2 separate regions of the Homo sapiens genome follow, and region 2 is linked to region 1. The links are contacts of gene promoters, found by promoter capture Hi-C in blood cells and fetal thymus (Javierre and others, 2016). All regions are on one chromosome and are shown on one strand. Each heading gives the region's core, a stretch centred on a gene start or on the middle of the fragment in contact. The rest is flanking DNA. Distances are from core to core; before and after follow the strand shown. Region 1 holds the start of SCN3A (sodium voltage-gated channel alpha subunit 3). Region 2 overlaps TTC21B (tetratricopeptide repeat domain 21B).

What was found. The method cuts DNA at HindIII sites, captures the fragments that hold promoters and counts their contacts. A CHiCAGO score of 5 or more calls a contact.
Region 2: a contact is called between a fragment that was not itself captured here and the fragment with the promoter of SCN3A in region 1, in 1 of 17 cell types (total B cells). The highest score is 6.5, in total B cells.

What each region holds. Positions count from the first base shown.
Region 1 is chr2:165,202,582-165,205,770 of GRCh38, reverse strand. SCN3A (sodium voltage-gated channel alpha subunit 3) reads left to right here and starts at 1,721. Exons shown (of 28, transcript NM_006922.4): 1 at 1,721-1,948. The HindIII fragment of the contact is 4,908 bases long and covers 1-2,653 here.
Region 2 is chr2:165,940,582-165,943,770 of GRCh38, reverse strand. It overlaps TTC21B (tetratricopeptide repeat domain 21B), which reads left to right. Exons shown (of 29, transcript NM_024753.5): 5 at 430-552; 6 at 2,587-2,744. The region is part of intron 1 of TTC21B-AS1 (TTC21B antisense RNA 1); the gene reads right to left. Among named protein-coding and RNA genes, the nearest start is that of TTC21B-AS1, 8.3 kb to the right of the region's middle. The HindIII fragment of the contact is 2,806 bases long and covers 190-2,995 here.

The DNA.
Region 1 (3,189 bases), core at 472-2,971:
GGAAAGGAGTCTCTGATAAGGGCTCCTTACATAGTTTGCCAATCTAGGATTAGCTAAAAAGATGAAAAGATGAGAAGTTTCCATCTATTTACACTATTCTAGTGTGGCAGAGATTGTGCCTCGCTTGCCTGAAGCCTGCAGAGTGCATTACATCCCATGGTTTACAAACAGCAGAACAGAGATGGCTGTGTGAGGCGCCTGGGGCAGGGAGGAAGGCTTAAGTCAGCCAATTACAGCCAAGAGTGACCCTGGGAACATGCTGCTTTTTCTTCTCTCCTCCTAAAGGACAGGAACAAAAGTTTCCTTAGAGGAAGAAGTGACAAAGAGGGGATGCTGCCATGCAAAGCTGGAGGGATGCTATTCCCGGGGCCCAGTGGGCCTGTGGGTACGTTAGTAGATATGAGGGATAATGATGGTCATGGATCATGCAGGACTCCTGGCCTCAGTGGATGCCCATGTGGAGAAAGGGGGAACGGGATCATACTCTGCTTTCTCTATATATGTACACAATCCTGAACTTAGATCAGTCTCCATGAGAAGGAGAGATAGAAGAGGAAAATCATGTATTGGTTGAATGCAAACCCAAAATCATTGGGAAAAGCCTCAAGTAATTTAGTTTACCTGGAACTGACTAGATTTATTTTTCTGCCATTAGACAAAATGGGGGCCACAATTGAAAACGAAGTATGTAATTAACAGTTCTTGAACACATGGCTGGGAAATATGGTATCAGCTATATTTGTTTTTCTTCTTTGTATGAGCTCCTTTATGGCAGGCACTGTGTGTTTCTCTCTGTGTCTTTTCAAGTCTAATATAATACTTGACATCATTTTTGTCCATCCATACAGTTGGTTTGTCAATATGAATGTATTTATTTAATTGATGATAAACTGTAATAAAATCATAGTTGTTTGCTCTAAAGTAGATATGAAAGGTCAGATGAAACAATAACATACATCTGGATTGAGAAATATCTTAATAACTGATGGATTATTTTTATTTTCTTTATGTATTGTGTGCTTCAATATCCTAATAAATAATATTAGCTAGGTTCACTGATGTATAGAATCTTTTTCTACATTTAGATATTTCTTGCAAATGTTTTACCAGAAAGCAACACAAAAATACTATCAGTGAGTATGTGTTTACACTGTTCTCTAAGGAGTCAAATTCCTCACCTTGAAAATAATTCATCCCAGGAAGAGAAAAGGTTTTCAAAAGACTAGAGCAGGCCACAAGGGAGCTTTCGCAAAACTCTACACGTAAAGGGTAATGTAAACTTAAAACCTATTTTTCAAACAGTAATTTATATATCTTTTAATTTTAGTAGTTTATGTGTGAAACAATCATGCAAAACAACAAAGTGATAAAATTTTTTAAAAAAATTAGTGAGATGCAAATAACTGAATATGTAAAAGGTCTCATACATATTTATATGTAGTAGATAAGTTACATTTTTTTAGTGTGTTGGGAAATTTTAGCTCACATCACCTCTCTACTGTCATCTTGGGGCACTTTCATGACTACCCATGCTTCATGCAGGTTTACTTTCCTCCCTGTGACAGAGGATAATGGGAATGTTTTTTCTTTGGCTCAATTTTGTGTGTGTCCGCCAGTAGATGGCGGTACCACTTTGAGTGCGATCGGCCTTTTTTTCTTTCTTTTTTTTTTTCCTCAAAGCTGTTTTCTGATATATGTTGGGTACCATAGAGTGAATCTCAGAACAGGAAGCGGAGGCATAAGCAGAGAGGATTCTGGAAAGGTCTCTTTGTTTTCTTATCCACAGAGAAAGAAAGAAAAAAAATTGTAACTAATTTGTAAACCTCTGTGGTCAAAAAAAAAAAAAAAAAAAAAAGCTGAACAGCTGCAGAGGAAGACACGTTATACCCTAACCATCTTGGATGCTGGGCTTTGTTATGCTGTAATTCATAAGGCTCTGTTTTATCAGGTAAGCTGACAAAACATTTCATTATCTGCACCATAGAACCTAGCTACCAGGTCATTTTCCTTACTTTAAAATCATCTTCATGCTGCTATTTTTAACCCAGTGTTGTTTAAATGTAAATTACAGGAACCAAAGGCATCGTTTGATGTGTAAACTGCTTACTATTTCTTTATCTTTCAAAGAAAATAGAGCCTGTCTGGAAATGGTGATTTATGGTACATACTAGGCATCAATGGTCTTGTGTTTTTGTAGATGCTTATGATTAATTGTATTCAGAAAAAATATTTTTTATTATACTTAAAGCTAGTCTAATGAGTTTCCTGGCTGTATGTCATCTATTTAAATGCCCAGTGTGTCCAGTATTTTTTAAACATAAATGTATAGTGAAATTGGAACTATCATTCTTGTGCTTTAGTTTTTTATTTAACAGCTTTAGAGAGGCCATGCATATAGGGAGTGATAACAATATAGAGGTGTTTGGCTTTGTGAAATACACTATCATTTTTCTCTAAAATCTGTTTTCATAGAGAAAAGAACACCAATACTAACCATTTAAAAGAGGTTGAACCTTCAAAAAATAAAATAATCTCTATATGTTCCATAATATGCTACTTCTTTATCCTTTAATATATTCATTTTATATTAAATGTTTACCTTTTAATTTATTGATTTAAAGATTATTATATATTCTTAATTGTTCTATAAGCTTGATAGATTGCTGTTTTTCTGTATATATTTAATAACTGTTTATTTTTATTAATTACCAGGAAGAACCACTGGAGCCATAAAACAATAATTTACTTTATCTATGATCCATATTGTCTGTAGTTGTATTTAGAATATTCTATATCATAACCATAAATGTTTCATTCAGTTAGCCACCACATAATTAGAATAAGAAATTATTGACAGAAAATCTATACATATTAATTGAAAGATAAGTTTTAAAAATCATACAGGGTTTTAAAATACACAACAGGTAGTATAATGTGGCTTATGAGGACAAAGATAAAGGCATAAGTGCTTGTAGGAATTTGCATGGAAACATTTCATCACATTCACTCCAAATAGAGTGTGCCCTATATGAAATGAAGACTTCTGATTTCAACAGGGCTTCCAGTCAGTACTGGCTAAAAGGGCTTCAAAAATAGAACTTAAGGCCTCCAAACTGTAATTCCTAATGATATGTTGAAAAATATTGACATCTCACTTAATATTTTACATTGAGTAGCAATAATAGTCCC
Region 2 (3,189 bases), core at 343-2,842, 740 kb before region 1:
CTTTAAGATATGTGAAGCAAGGCTTCTTCTGTTATTTCATCTTAGTTCATTTAGACGGTTTGTCCAAAAAGAAACAACAAATTCTCATCTATATATTGAATTTCATGTTTAAGTGTTATTAATTGTCAATTACTAGCAAAGTCTCAGAGAAAATAATGGTTTTAACACTAATGGAATATTTGATAAGCTTCTTAATTTTAATATTGAGCTTAATAGTAATGTTAAAGGCTGAAATTTGTAGTATAGTTCCCAAGACACTAGGCTGGCAAGGGTTCAAAAGTGATTTCACTAACAGAATTTTATTGTTCATAACATATTTGATAGAGTCCTTTTTGTTATTAATTGCCAGAAAAATGACATTAGGCTCTTTCATTAACATTTATTTCTCTCATTTCTAAAAAAGTAAAAATAGAATTATTCATTTTACAGGGACACGTTTTGAAAGCATGGCTTGATATTACAAGAGGAAAAGAGCCTTACACTAAAAAAGCACTGAAGTATTTTGAAGAGGGACTCCAAGATGGGAATGATACTTTTGCTCTGCTGGGTAAGGTGAGTTGGAGTTAGGGTAAATAAATCATGTTTCAAAATATATTCATAATATATTTGAAACCTGACAAAACCAAGTAGCTCAAAAAAGTTGATAATTTTCATGATACTGTTGTCAGCTCACAGCTGTAAGGTAGACTGGCATTTGTGTAGGACAATGAGCAATACACTAGAGAAATGTATTCCCTGCCAGAGTTCCTGAATCCTGGATCAGCTGTAACTGTTAATTGTTGTTGTTGTTTTGGTTCACACATTCTTTCCTCAGCATTTATTATGTGTCTTATGTATGTGAGGCATCCCTCTAGATATTAGAAACCCTGAGCAAGAGAAAACCTCTTGTTTTTATGGAGCTTATATCCTACTGATGGAGGCAGACAATAAACAAAATAAGTAAGTTATATGGTATATTAGAAGGTGATAAGTATAATGGAAAATACAGCTGGAAAAGCTAGGGCATGAACTTCCAGTTTTACATGAAGTGGTCGGAGAAAGTGACATTTGAGCAAACACATTTATGGAGGTGAGGGTTAAAGCCCTGCAGGCATCTGGGGAAAGTATTTCAAATAGAGGAGATGATGAGTTCAGGTACCCTAAGGTGTATTCAGGGCTAGCAAGGAGGCCAAAGTGGGTTGAGTAAAGAGAACAGAAGTGAAGGCCTGAGGAAGAAAGGTGGGATGGGGGTGAGGAGGAGTGGTGGGCCTGGCCTGTTCTGTAAGGCCTTTGGCTTCTACCTTCTATTAGAGAGACAGGCAGCCAATACAAAGTTTTGAACAGAGAAATAACATGATCGGACATACATTTTGAGGGATGAGCAATTGAAGGAGTCATTAGAACTTACTGATGGATGGAAATATTTAAGTAGGACCCTTTCTTCAATCCCCATTGATGCTATCTAAATGCCTTAATTTTTTTTTGACTCAGCAAAAAGAAATTATATGTTGGGAACAAGTCTGCTAGATAAGCAGTAATTTGGAGGGATAAAAAAGAAGGGGAGAGGATTCATGTCTTGACTTTTGTTAATGTCTCCACATCACTTTTCCTGTCACTTTGTGTGGACAGTAAGCCTGTTGAACATCTTGTGTTCAGGCCCACTACCCTCAAGTTTTACCTAATAGCACTGCTGAAGAAATTGGCCATATACTTTTCTTGATCATTTTCCTTCTCTTAAAGAAAAGCTAGTTGATAAAAATTTGCCTCATCATCTCTTTTTAATGTACTAACTATATTTATAGCTTTATTTTTTCTGACTATGAGATACATGAACATAGTAAAACTTTTTTTCAGAAAATACAATAACATCTGAATGAGAAAATGAGCATCACCATTGGAAATAACCAGTTAAACTATTATATATAATATCTCTTCATGTCAGTAAATCTACGTCTACAAATTTATATCATCATTTTTAATGATTACTTAACATTTTATTAAATTAGATATACTATAATTTTCTCCTCTAGGTACATTTGGGATTATTTTATACATAAACAATTCTGCCATAAATATCATCTATATACTTCCTTGTGGTCTTGTCCAATTATTTCCTTCAGATAATTCATAGAAGTGAAAAATGTTGAAGTAGAGGGATTTGTTTGAACTGTATTTTGCTTGTTCTTTAAAATCATATATTCTTTAACCTGAAAATAATTTCTTAAAAAAGATGCAAAATTTCTAAAATTTCTTAAAATTTTAGATGCTACTTGAAAATTTCCTGGAAACATTTTAATCTAAAAAGATAATTTTGTTTTAAATGGAAACATTATTTTATGGTATTTCCGAGAACATTTTAAAAAATTTTATCCTTTAATCATGTTTTTCAGCCATTTAAAAGTAAATTTTAAAACACAATAGCTTATATAATGTATTTGTATTATTCTGTGATGTTTTAAAATTTTGTTTTGACAAAAACTTAAAAAGTGATAACTGCTCCTCACAGAAAAGTAAGTATTAAACGCTCATACTCTGCCTGCTCTGCGTTATGAGAACTTTGATATGAAAGATCACAGTTTGGATATCACTTTTTTTCCCTTCCATTAGGCACAATGCCTTGAGATGCGCCAGAATTATTCAGGTGCCCTGGAGACTGTGAACCAGATAATCGTGAATTTTCCGAGCTTCCTTCCTGCTTTTGTTAAGAAAATGAAATTACAACTAGCCTTGCAGGATTGGGACCAGACAGTTGAGACAGCACAAAGGTTAAGTAATAAAAGATGACACAAGTCTCTTTGGATTTGGTTATAATTTTGAGAAAAAGCGACATCTGTGAATTTTTTTCATAAGGGTTTTTAAATTTGATTTTTTTCAAACAGTGTGGAACCGAGGAAATACTTAAAATCATACTGCTTTTAAACATTGAATTTATTGATTTACATAAATATTTGATTCCTGGTTTAAGACAGACACTCTTTTTAGGCAAACAGGCCAATATCCCTGTGGTCATGAAGCTTATATTTAAGTGAAAGGAACCATATACTAAGCACACCAAATAAGTATATTGTGTAGTATGTTAGAAAGTATAAGTGCTATGGGGAAAAGATAAACCAAGAAAGAGATGGGGAGTGTTGAGGGGTTCAATCTTATGGGATGGTCATGGAAGGCTGAGACCTTTGAGCCATCTTCTAAAGAAGGTAAGGGAGTAAG